Linked DNA regions of Homo sapiens: region 1 is linked to region 2. Evidence: promoter capture Hi-C in human tissues and cell types (Jung and others, 2019). All regions are on one chromosome and are shown on one strand. The core of a region is centred on a gene start or on the middle of the fragment in contact, and the rest is flanking DNA. Distances in the headings are between cores, read along the strand shown.

Region 1 (6,408 bases), core at 427-2,926, 110 kb after region 2:
AGTGAGAGTCCTCCCGAGCCAGGCTCCTGCCCTCCCCATCCTTCCAGAAAGCTTAGAGATGAGTGCATCACCGACAGAGGCCATTTTCTATTGTTCTTCTTCGGAAATACATCCTTTTGAAAGATAACCCATCTTTTATCACTAGATATTTTAAAAAATATTTTCTTTGGCCAGGTGTGGTGGCTCACACCTGTAATCCCAGCACTTTGGGAGTCCGAGGCGGGTGGATCATGAGGTCAGGAGATCGAGACCTTCCTGGCTAATACAGTGAACCCCCGTCTCTACTAAAAATACAAAAAATTAGCTGGGTGTGGTGGTGGGCAACTGTAGGCCCAGCTACTCAGGAAGCTGAGGCAGGAGAATGTTGTGAACCCGGGAGGCGGAGTTTGCAGTGAGCCAAGATTGGGCCACTGCACTCCAGCCTGGGTGACACAGCGAGACTCTGTCTAAATACATATGTGTGTGTGTGTATATATATATATATTCTTTGTTTACGGCATTTATCAATTGAATTATGTTGTGTCTAGAATTTTATTTCCCCTTCTTGGATTCACTGGGCTTTATGAATCTGTGAGTTGGTGTCTTCTAACAATGTTGGCAAATTCTCAGCCAAATCTCCTTAAATATGACATCTTCCCAATTTTCTCTCTTTTCTCTTTCTAGGACTCTAAACATAACATAGCCTTCAAACTGTATTCTCATTCATTTTTTTCACATTTTGCGTTTCTGTCACTTTGTATCTATTTCAGTAATTTCTTCAGCTCTAGATTCTAGTTCCCTAATTCACTTTTCAACTGTCTAATTTGTTGTTAAATCCATCCACTTTAAAAAAAATCAGTGATATTTCTCATAAGTTTTATTTGGTGTTTTTCCATATCTGCTTTGTAATTTAAAAAATAGTTTTCTGTTCTCTTCAGATATTTCTGACTTTGTGTTTTCTTCATGTTTTGGTCTGCCAAATTCAACATCTGAAATATTTATGTGTCTGTTTCTACTACGTTTTCTGCTGCTTCTCACTCAGTGCTTTATTTTCACATGTGGTGGGTTGTTTTTCATTGAGAATTGCTTCTTTGCTTTGTAGTTTTATTTTTGAGAAATCTTTGAGGCTTAGGATGAAGGTTTGTTACTCAGAAGGAATTATGCTTGGCTCCTGGGAATGACCAGTTCAGAATCACTCTCTATTAAATTCTCAGCTTGGGGACTTTTGGTCACCCACCTCACACAAATTTAGGGAGAACCTGTTGCTCCAAATACTCGGCAGTGATTTTTCTCTTTTTCTTTCAGCTCTAGGGCTTGAAATGACTGATCCCCCCTGATTCCTTTGCGGGTAGAGAAGTGAGTTGCCTCTAGTTTGCCACTGCAATGAGGGTACCGCCCTCTGGGGGCCCTTACTTTAAGAGATTACTGATTGGCTTGCCATTTTGGCTGTGCTCTCAGCTTGATCTTCCATTTGTATCTCTTGAAAAGGTGAAAATGAAGTTGACCAGGTTTCACAAATGCCCTCAGGGCAAAGGCCAGCTGCACTCCCCACTAGATTTCTCTTTGGGTTCCTCTGTGCCTTCAACCATGGCCTGAGAATTCCTTATGTCTCCTCAGTTCATTAATGCCTTTAAGAATATTTACACTCGCACTCACATGGACACGGACACGCGCACGCGTGCACACACACACCCTTAACTTGCTCAGTTTCGGAGCATTGTCCGATCCTTGTAAGTGACTTGCCACATGACTAGAACCTCTGGCTTCATTTCACTCCTTCTTTCTTTCCCCTCCCTTTTCCCTTTATGCCATCGGTCTGTATTCCACGATCTTTAAAATCTACCTTAAGTACTTTCTGGGATTATGTAAAAATCAGACAACTCTCCTAGCCACCATCCTTTTCTAGAGATAGGAGTGACTGACTCCTACACCACAGGCACTTTGGAGGGGTAAGGTGTAATACTGAAGAAGTGTTTTGTGTGGTCTACAGTAATTCACAACTCTAAGACGTTATCACAGCGAACATTTGCTGTTTAAAACCTTAGTGGTGAATATTTTTTTTTTTGAATGAGGCTAATTCATTTCGAAAGCACCCTAGGAAGACCAGATGCTTTTGAAATGATTTAGACTCATTCAAAAATAATGCAAATGATAAAGAGCATGCAAATGATAAAGAATGTGACCTGAAATTATCTGCAACTTCAGCAGACAAGCTGTGGTTGGCTGAGTTTGGGCTTCTATAAAACACACTGAGCCATCTTGTTTCAGTCACTAATCAAGCTCTGCCCTGGGAGCTTGCTCTTTGCTGTGGTTTGGACATCTGACCCTTCCAAACCTTATGTTGAAATTTGATCTCCATTGTTGGAGATGGGGCCTCATAGGACGTGTTTGTGTCATGGGGCTGGACCCCCTATGAACAGATTAATGCCCTCCCTCTGAAGGGAGTGAGTTCATGCTCAAGTACTTCTTGCTCTAACGAACCCATGAGACCTTGTTGTCGAAAAGGGCCTGGAGCCTCCCCCAGCCCTTCGCCTCCTCTCTCTCCATGTGATCTCTGCACATGTCAGCTCCCTTCACCTTCTGCTGTTAGTGGAAGAAGGCTGAGACCCTCACCACATGCAGAGCTCAATCTTCAACTTTTCAGCCATCAGAATCATAAGCCAAATACACGATTTTTCTTTATAAATTACCCAGGCTCAAGTGTTTCTTTGTAGTAACACTGACAGACTAAGACACGCCTTGTGTCCATCACTGTTAGTCACTGTTGCTCACGGAAGGGAGTCCACAGCTCCATTTGATGCTCACATGGAAGGATGTCCACAGAAGCTGTCAGTTTTTGCAGATTATTTGCAAGTTGATGCTTCGGCCAAGCGTCCAGCTCCACTTCTCAGGCTCTGCTACTCCTCAGCCATTTCACTGTTCCACACAAAGGAAATGGTGGGAGGAGCACGTAGACTCAGGCGCTGTTCTATAGACATTCTACATGAGCTCAAGTTGTAGCTTCTTAAGTTTGTCCTCCATACCACTGAGACAATTTTTTACTGCACCAATTTACTTCTTCTTTCCTTGAAAGATTTTAATTTTGCAACTTCATGGTCAGTTTCTTGCAATCTTTCCACATCTCTTTCATCTCCCCTTCAATCTCAGTGGATTTGTCTTCTCATCTCAACTTGTCTCCAATTATGATTTTGACTCCTGCCTCATGAAGACCCTGTGCTATGCATCTCAAACACTTTTTTTTCTAGAGAACAATTTTCACAGGTTTGCTGTCTCTCTGGGCTTTCAAGGTGATGTCTATTCCCAGTTCTGCAAAATTTTCACAGGATATACACAGAACCATGAGTCCTACCCTCTTGTCCTCTAGGGTGCTGGTCAGGGCTGTGCTGCTGGGAGACCTTGACCTTCCTCAGGGCTCTATGGCACCCAGACGGCTGTGGGAAGCTGCCTGGAGCACAGGAACTCTGAGGATACCAGGGCTTTTGATGTTTTGCCCGATCATAGGGCTTTTCTTGTATGGATCATGCCTTTCAGGATACAGTATGCCCTATACCCTTTTCCTGTCCAGCTAGCTTTTGGGAGGTGCCTCTCTGAAGCATTGTGAGAAGGCAGGTACTGAACGGTAGACTTCAGGGTGTAAAGCAGCTTGCTTTGCCTTGGAAAGCCAAGGTAACACCTTAGAGAAAGGGTTGCAGTCTCATTTTAAGGTACAATCATGTCTCATGTTTCTTAGCTGAGGGGATATAGTAGTGGAGGGAGAGCATGCCCCTCTGTTTTCAAGTGCTCAGTCTACCTATTCTGCTGGCAGAGCATGTCTGGATGGTTTGCCAACTCATGTGTGTGCCTGATAGCAAATTCCTTTAGCCTTCTAGTGAGTAAACTTTCCCCCTGATTCTGGAAGTAAATGATCATTTGTTTCACGGTTAAATTTCACTGCATTCTATGGATCGTCCTAAATGTTTAAGCAGAAAGCAGGGATAGGTACGGTCAGAGGCATCTAATCAGAGACCATCTTAAAATGGCAGGTGTTCATTATTTAAAGTTCTTAGATCAGTACAATTGGGTGAAAATAATTCTTAGTTTAGACTTAAAGGCAAGTATGGAAATGAGAGGTGTTCAATCTATACATTGTTTACTGCCTAGAAAATAAAGATGAATTGATACTCTCACAGCTCGGCTGCCATGCACTACTTCTAAAGATGGACACACGGTTCCTGTTCTGGGGTTACTGTTGACATCAAGAGACAAACGACAAGCAGCCCAGCCCTTGAGTTTGCACTGGTGATTTTTTAAAGAAGATATTTCACTCTCTAGAGAACCAAACTTGGGTAGATTTCAACATGACCCGCACTGCCACGTATCTTACCTGAATCTCAGTCTTCACTTTCAGCACTGTCAGTTTTCATGGGCTCTGTTGTTTCTTGTTGCAGCCTGTTTGCAATATTCAGAAAGAGAAACAACAGAGAACGTATGATGTAATACTTGTTATAATGCCAAAGTGCACAAAATGTGTAAACAAGAGTACATTTTAGAGATTAGCTTGTGACGTGGGCAATCACTTCACCTCTCTGAGTTTCAGAGCCTTCATTTTTGTGAAAACAGTAACATGACTGCACTGCTGAAAGAATGTTGCTTTTTTCTTCTGCATGTGTGCTGATATAGAGACAAAGTGTGCTTTCCCTGATAAATAAGAGGGTCTTGTGGTAGCCAAGGAGGCTTGTTTGGATTTCCAGCATGAAAAGTGGGGAAATGTGGGGCCCACAGGAGGTCAGCTCATGCCTGGTACCTTCTTCTCACAACTCTTGCTTGATTGTGATGAGTTCTGGCTATCAGGGAGCCTTAAGTGTTTTTATACCCACATCTTGAGTACAGGTGTTTTGTTCTCTGCCCTGATGTTACACTACCCCAGCCAGCTAATGACTTGATTGTTTATGTGTGCTGGCCAGCTGGCAGTAGAAGTGACCGTGTTGCTGCCCAGACTTTGCAGAGGGTTGGAGATCGGGCTTAACTTGCAACGCTGAATGTGTCGGGAATTAGACACCAGAAACACGCAAAATTTTGCTTTGAAAGATTTTGAAAGACCCACAAGCAAAATAGTCACTAGGAGACTTCTAAATCAAAACTGCGTATCCATCACATGCTATAGTCTCCCTTCTCTGATCCAATCCTTAAAAATTATAATCAGGATATAAATGTATCCATAAATGAGTAAGGACATTACATCAAAGAAAAGCAAGAGGGAAACCTTTCTTGGATCAGAAATGATGACTCCTAGAAGGAAAGGATGCAAATGGGAGCTGATGCAGAAGGCCATGGTCAGGAGTGTGCTGCAGAACCTGGAAGAGACCCCCAGGAATTGCCACAGAGGAGCAGTGGATGCTCAGCTGGGCAGGGCTCCTGATGGGGTGATTAGCTGGGGGACTTGTAGGCTGAGCGGCCAGGCAGTGACTGCTGCTGCAAGACTTCCCAAACCATAGGCAACAATGGGAGTGTCTGCCACCAGATTATTGCAGGGGGAGCAGTAGTCTTGGTAGACACAGAGAAGTGCTAGGAAAAAATGCACAGAAGGAAGTGACAGGACTCAGTAAGCAAAGGAGAACTGGGGTATCACCAAACGAATCCAAAAATTACTGAGAATAAAGAGAAAATAAAATATTAATTTCAAATGAAAACATAAAGGCATGACAAAGTATGATAGGTGAAATGGTGGAGGATTGTGAGACATACAGGTTGGTGGGGAAGAATGTAGATAATTGTGTTGTAAAAGTGTGTAAGTATGTATATAAAAATGGAGAGGAAGTTTACCTAAAGACAAAATGGTATTGTAGAAAGCTATAGAGGCTGGTCCTTCCACTGAAACAACCATTGAGCTATAAAGAGCAATTGCAATGAATTATTTGGAAACTCTGCAACCTGGTCAGACATCTATGGGAGAGTGCTTGAAGAAAGGAGAAGCTGGGCTGGGTGCGGTGGCTCACACCTGTAATCCCAGCACTTTGGGAGACCGAGGTGGGTGGATCACGAGGTCAGGAGATCGAGACCATCCTGGCTAACATGGTGAAACTCTGTCTCTACTAAAAATACAAAAATACAAAAAAAAAAAAAAAAAAAAAAAAAAAAAAAAAAAAAAAAAAAAAAAAAGCTAAATGTGGTGGTTAGTGCCTGTAGTCCCAGTTACTTGGGAGGCTGAGGCAGGAGAATGGTGTGAACCTGGGAGGTGGAGCTTGCAGTGAGCAGAGATTGTGCCACTGCACTCTAGCCTGGGCGACAGAGCGAGACTCTATCTCAAAAAAAAAAAAGAAAAAGAAAGGAGAAGCTGCTGGTCTTTCGTGAATGGTGTACATGAGCCAGCTACCGCCTCGATTTCTTAGTCTTCCTGTGGCTATAAGGGCAGCAACCTACATTCTTGGAGCAGCTGGCTGATGTCACAGT
Region 2 (6,409 bases), core at 2,937-5,436:
AGAGGGTGCTGGGAGCTCGCCTGTGTCAGACATGAGGGCCCTTGGACCAGGGCCTGGGTTTGAAGCCACCTCCATACCCCATACACGGTGCTCACTGCTCCTGGCCCCATTGACTGATGACTGATGGCCAGAGGGGGACAGCAGCTGTGTGAAGTCGCCTGGCAGGTGCGGCTGTTGGTGGCACTCCCTGGGCGGAGGCCACGTTGGACATTTGTGAACAAACGAGCAGGTTGGGGTTACAGGTTATAGGATCTGGGAAATGTGGTCTGTGATGCCATGCGCCCTGGGGGATCTCATGGAGCCCACATGGGCAGGCACCTTTTATCATGCCAAGAAGTCAAACGTGGGATGCCATGTGGGGAACATGCCCTGGGTGGGGGAATACCCTGGGTGGAGATGCCATGTGGGGAGGATGCTCTGGGTGGGGAATCTTTGTGGGGGTTGTCCTGGGTGGTGGAGCCTTGGTGAAGGAATGGCCTAGGGGGTGGCTCTGGGAGGGGGTGGCTCTGGGATGTGGATGTCCTGGGAGGGGGATGTCACCTTAGGGGGAAAGCCTGTTGCAGATGCCCTAGGAGGGAAGCCCTGTGTGAGAGATCATCTGGGTGGGGGCTGCCCCGGGTGGGGGATCATCTGAGTGGGGGCTGCCCTGGGTGGGGGATGTCCCCGGTGGGGGATCATCCAGGTGGCAGATCATCTGGGTGGGGGATCATCTGGGTGGGGGATCATCTGGGTGGAGGATCATCTGGGTGGGGGATCAACTGGGTGGGGGCTGCCCTGGGTGGGGGCTGCCCTGGGTGGAAGATCTTATCAGGGGGATGCAGTGGGTTATGGCCCTGTGGCAACCCCAAACACACACACACCAAGAAGAAGCTGGTCTCCCTAGGAGGAGGATCCACGCAGGGCAGCTTGGGGTTTGGCTCGTGGATGCTGGGGACAAGGCCTGAGCCCCAGATGTGGCTGGGCCTGACCCAGGCAGCTCCACCCCTTCCTTCCCAGGAAACACCTTTTGCTCGAGCAGTAGGAACTAGGCGTGTGTAGATTCTGCTGCCTGATCCTGGCTCCTGGCTGAGGGTTTGTGGGCTCAGATGGACTAGACACCCGGCCACAACCCTCCTGGGCATAGCCTTCTGGCTCCCCCAGCCCAGGCGGAGGCATTGAGCGACTCTCCTCACCCAGAGTGTTTTCCCGAAGGCGCTTCTGCCTGAGGGCACCAGGCTGGGCCAGGTACTGCAGGGCGCTGACCAGCACTGGCCTGGGGGCCCCAAGAGCCCCAGATGGCATCCCTCTCACACACTCCCCCTGTCTCACCAACAGCTATAAATAGACTCGGCTCTCTGCTGGCACGGCCTCTCCCGAGGAAGCTTTTAATTCTCTGCGTCCTCTGCAGGGGGTGGCTCCCACAGGCCTGGGAGGGAACAGACTGCCTGACTCTCCAGAGAGCTCCCCAGTCTCCATCTGCGATGGGTGATCCTAATTTTCTTCAGGAAGTTCTCCTGAGCCCTGCGTGTGGCGCTTTGGCCTTTGTGCCCACGGAAGCCCCCTGCGGCCCCTCCCTCCGGGCCCTGCCCAGCCCGGTGCACGAACCCTGTTTACCGATTCCCAGGCCTAGGGCAGCCACTGCCAGTGTGAGGCTTGCAAATTAGGGTAGGGGGTCAAAAGGAAGCCCCTGTTGACCATTTCTGTGAGCATTCTATGCTCATTTCCACAACGAGCATTTATAACCTCGTATAATCGCTAAAACATTTATTGCAACTTCAGGGAATTCGGGAAGATAGACCAACCGCAGCTGTAAGATTAAAACGCAGCCAGTGACCAGCGGAGCTTCCTCCACGCACACGCGGTCCAATCCCCATGACTTCATGTTTTGTGAAGATGCAAAGCGAGTTCATGCCGGCGCCTTTCTGAATCAGAGATCCGTTTAGAAACCATGAAAGCTGCAGACCCCTCCCGGGAAAACGCACACACCCTCCTGGAGCTCGCCTTCTGCAGCCGCTCCGGGAGCCCGCCCCTCCCCCACAGGCCCTCCGAGGATCACGTGGTGGGGAGGCGCTGGCACCGAGCGGCTGACAGGCGCGAGAGCCCAGTTCAAGGCGGCGGCATCAGGCTGCAGCTGCCTCACTCCCCTCCACTTCCTGCCCCTTCCCGGCCTTGGTCCAGCCCCATCTCCTAGTCCCAGGCCACAGGGAGCTGGGTCACCTCCCAGGGGCAGGGGCTGGCTGGGCGTGGGGGGAGACCTCTCCCCCTGAGAAGTCAGGCGGGGAGGGGTGGCCGGGGTGGGCGGAGGGGCCCAGTCCTCTATCGGTCCCCCAGGGGCCCTGCAAGCAGAAGAGCCAATAAACATGCCAGGTGGATCAGCGGTGACACTGAGAGGGAACGCAACACCCCATCAAAACAGCAGCCCCCCAACCCCCATCAAAACAATAGCCCCCAACCCCCATCAAAACAGCAGCCCCCAAACCCCATCAAAACAGCAGCCCCCAACCCCCATCAAAACAGCAGCCCCCAAATACCCATCAAAACAGCAGCCCCCCAAACCCCATCAAAACAATAGCCCCCAACCCCCATCAAAACAGCAGCCCCCAACCCCCATCAAAACAGCAGCCCCCAAATACCCATCAAAACAGCCCCCAACCCTCATCAAAACAGCAGCCCTCAACCCCCATCAAAACAGCAGCCCTCAACCCCCATCAAAACAGCAGCCCCCTAAACCCCCATCAAAACAGCAGCCCCCCAAACCCCCATCAAGACAACAGCCCCCCCAACCCGTATCAAAACAGCAGCCCCCAACCCCTCATCAAAACAGCAGCCCCCAGACCCCATCAAAACAGCAGCCCCCCAACCCCTATCAAAACAGCAGCCTCCCAACCCCTATCAAAACAGCAGCCCCCAACCCCCTATCAAAACAGCAGCCCCCCTAAGCCCCCATCAAGACAGCAGCCTCCCAACCCCACATCAAAACAGCAGCCCCCCAGACCCCATCAAAACAGCAGCCCCCAACCACCTATCAAAACAGCAGCCCCCAACCCCTATCAAAACAGCAGCCCCCCAACCCCCTATCAAAACAGTAGCCTCCCAACCACCTATCAAAACAGCAGCCTCCCAACCCCCTATCAAAACAGCAGCCCCCAAACCCCTATCAAAACTGCAGCTCCCAACCCCCTATCAAAACAGCAGTCCCCCAACCCTATCAAAACAGCAGCCCTCCAACCCCCTATCAAAACAGCAGCCCCCCAAACCCCTATCAAAACAGCAGCCCCCAACCCCGTATCAAAATAGCAGCCTCCCAACCCCTATCAAAACAGCAGCCCCCCAAACCCCCATCAAGACAACAGCCCCCCCAAAACCCTTATCAAAACAGCAGCCCCGCCACTGCCCGGGAGGGACAGGCTTCTCACCTCCCTCGGCTCCGTTTACGTAACCGAAACCGCAGAATAAAGGGCTCCTCAGATCTTCGGGCGCTGCTCCCAGGGGTGCGGGAAGGTGTCCCGGCAGCGCCTCTCCATCGCCACAGGCCCGCGGACAGTAGCCAAGACCCGGGGCAGCTGGAGGCTCTGCGGGGGGCGGTCTGACAGCCCCACCTGCCAGGACGCGGTGGTGTCAGGACCCTGAGATGGGCCGTTTCTGTGGCCAGGGATCTCTCAAAACCTGCTGCGGGCAGTGACTTCATTCCAGCCCTCCACGCCCTAATTTCCCACGCCTCACACCGGCGGCCCCCTAGGCCTGGGAATAGGGAAACGGTTCGAGTCCCGAGCTGGGGAGGGTCTGGAGGGAAGGGCTGCAGGGGCGTCCGTGGCCGCGAAGAAAGGCCAAAGCGCCAGGCACAGGGCCCGGAGACGGTGACAGACCTGTCCCTGGCGCGGCCGACGGTGACCCCCGCTCGCGGCCTTTGCAAAGCCTCCCCGTCGCGTCCTCGCACCGAGCCCGCAGCGCCGAACTCCGGGCATCCCAATCCGGGGGCTCAGGGACGCGCGGGGCGGTCCGGGAAGGGGGCTCGGGGGAGCGCGGGGGGCAGGGGCTGCGGCGCAGGTGGCTGCTGGGGCTGACGGGCCCAGTCTCCGCCCCCGGGTGCCCCCCGCGCCGCGCCCGCGGGACCGAGCCCCGCGCCCGCTTACCTTGGAGACGCAGCGACTGCAGCGGAGGCGCCTCCGCGACTCGGCCGCGCGCGACCCGGTGCTCAGCGGAGCTCTCCAGCCGCCGCCCCGCGCCCGCCCGTCCCGCCCAGCACCGCCCAGCCCCGCCCAGCCCGGTCCCGGGCCCGCCCCCGGCCCCCAGCGTCCGGCGCCCGCCCAGCGTCCCGCCCCGCGCGCTCATTGGCAGCCCCGCCCCCGCCGCCCCACCCGGCCCGGGGACGCGCGGGCGCACCGAGACCTCTGCCTTACAAGGCCGACTCTGCTCAGGCCCCGCGGACCGCCGGGTATCCGCTCAGCGCAGGGCGCGGCCGACCCGCGGGTCGTGGGAACCGCTGGGCAGGGGGCGGCGGGGCCCCTCACCTGGCTCTGGGGCCCCCCGGGGACGACCGGACCCCGATCTCTCCGCCCCGCAGGACGCGCGTTGACGGTGCGGCGGGGGATGGATGAGCGCGGCCGCGGCCTCCTGGGGTGGGGTGGGTTGGCGGCGGGGCCTCGAGGACGGTGCGGGGCGAGCCCCGACCGCGCCCAGTTCTTTAAGGAGCCGCAGACGGTGCAGGGAAGCGGCAGGGCCGGGCTGTGAGGGTGCTCGGACCCCAAGGCGGGGCGCACCCAGGGGACTGGGCTTCCAGGTGGGGGCAGCGCGGCCGGGGATCGACCTGAGCAGGGAGACGGGTCCGTGCCGGGCGCCCAGCGCAGCTGCTCGGGAGTGGGCCGCCCTTCACGCAGGAGTGGAGGAGCGGAGCGCGCACCCCTGACCCCGGCCTCAGCTTCCGTTCTCCCTGCAGGTCGCCCGTATGCAGCGCCACCATCCCGGCCGCTCTTCCAATCTCGCCTTTCTCCGGGCACCTGCCGCCCCTCCCCCGCTCCCCAGACAGGCTTTGCGGAGGGGGCTCATTCCGCCCGGGGCTGCCCGGCCCTCCGCAGGAGTTGGCTCCCCACAAGGTTCCGGGGCCGAGATGACAGGGCGGTTCTGTGGTGCTGGGTGCTGGGACTTGAGGGGCATAGGGGCACCTGCCCTGGAGGAGGCCGAGGCGCAGCCCCCCAGGAGGAAGGGGTGCCTCTGGTGACTTTCAGCTGGACTCTTCCAGCTGGACTCTAGTGCAGCTGAGCTCCTCCCCCAGCCCCGGCTCTGTCCCTGCACCAGGTGTCCAGCAGGCCCTGGAATCCGCAAAGGCAGAAGGGGAAGTTGGGGTGCTGGGTGCTGGGCAGGGGGTGCTGAGGCCTCACAGCCCGGCGGCTTGGCCCCCACCCACCCCACGGTGGTCCCGCGCCCCACACTTCCTCTCCTCTCCTGTGGTTTCTCCTTCCACTCAGTGCTGCCCAGAGATGGGCTTCTGTCTAGTTCTCCTGAGAAATTCCACACTCGCAGCTGGGAAGTCGGGGGACCCCCGAAGCTGTGCGGCGGCCACGCTGCGGCTCCTGCTTCCCTCCTGCTCGGGTGCGGGCTCGGCTGCCTTCTCGTCCCGCGGAGCCCGGAGTGCCTCCCCCTCGGGTAGATCCTACTAACAGCATCAAAGAAATAATGAAATAATCTCTCCTTGGTGTGTTCTTACCGTCCTAATAGGCACAAGGGGACTCTTCAGTGCATTTTCCAAAACCTGTACAAACTCTCTTGACATAAATGCAGTGAGTTTACAATAAAATCGCAGTGGGAGGTAACGTCAGGCTTCAGAGGCAGACATGGTCCTGGAGCCTTTGGGAGGAGAGGAGAGGAGAGGCAGCGGGCGCGGGGCGGCGTCCAGGGGGCTGAGCGAGGTCTGGGCAGGAGGACAGAGCTGAGCCTTGGGCTGCCCTGGCCCCTGCGCAGGACACACAGTGACCGGGGCTGGGGTGGGCACCCCGGTTCTACCGTCGGGAGTCGGCGTGTTCATGGAGTCTGTTTCCTTGTCTGTGGGTGAAACTTTGGCTTGGGGTCACGGGTGTGTTATTTCCCAGCGACAGTCGGTTCAGTCAGCACTTACAAAATCACCAGAAACAGGGGCACAGGATCTTGCTCAGCAGGGAGAGGTGGATCCTGATTCGGGACTCCAGGCTCTTCACCTGGCCATGGCTGCCCGTCCGGTGGCCCTTCCTGGCCCCCAGCTCTTGCTCCACTGCCAGACCTGGACAGCCTCCATTAACCCTGCAATTACTGAAAACCGACTCACAGCCAATGATGTGATCCACGCCAAGTGTCCCGTTATAAGATGTTTCCTGGGGATCCTTAGAAAATCACTACAAATGGGTTGAACAACAGGGCTTTCCTCTTACGGCTTAGGAGGCCAGAAGTCCGAGATCAA

What was found. The method cuts DNA at HindIII sites, captures the fragments that hold promoters and counts their contacts. A contact is called where the count stands out against the background at its distance.
Region 1: a fragment that was not itself captured here is called in contact with the fragment with the promoter of TPPP in region 2 in 14 of the 25 tissues and cell types used here (IMR-90 fibroblasts, aorta, bladder and 11 more).

Annotation. Positions count from the first base shown.
Region 1 is chr5:796,758-803,165 of GRCh38, forward strand. ZDHHC11 (zDHHC palmitoyltransferase 11) reads right to left here. Exons shown (of 13, transcript NM_024786.3): 12 at 4,343-4,407. The coding sequence ends at 4,350. Among named protein-coding and RNA genes, the nearest start is that of ZDHHC11B, 15 kb to the left of the region's middle. The HindIII fragment of the contact is 6,222 bases long and covers 1-4,787 here.
Region 2 is chr5:689,166-695,574 of GRCh38, forward strand. It overlaps TPPP (tubulin polymerization promoting protein), which reads right to left and starts at 4,187. Exons shown (of 4, transcript NM_007030.3): 1 at 4,113-4,187. It overlaps LOC101929898 (a long non-coding RNA gene), which reads left to right and starts at 4,375. Exons shown (of 2, transcript XR_925675.4): 1 at 4,375-4,557; 2 at 4,916-6,409. RefSeq lists enhancers at 3,613-4,195, 5,109-5,987 and a silencer at 4,190-4,439. The HindIII fragment of the contact is 24,608 bases long and covers 1-6,409 here.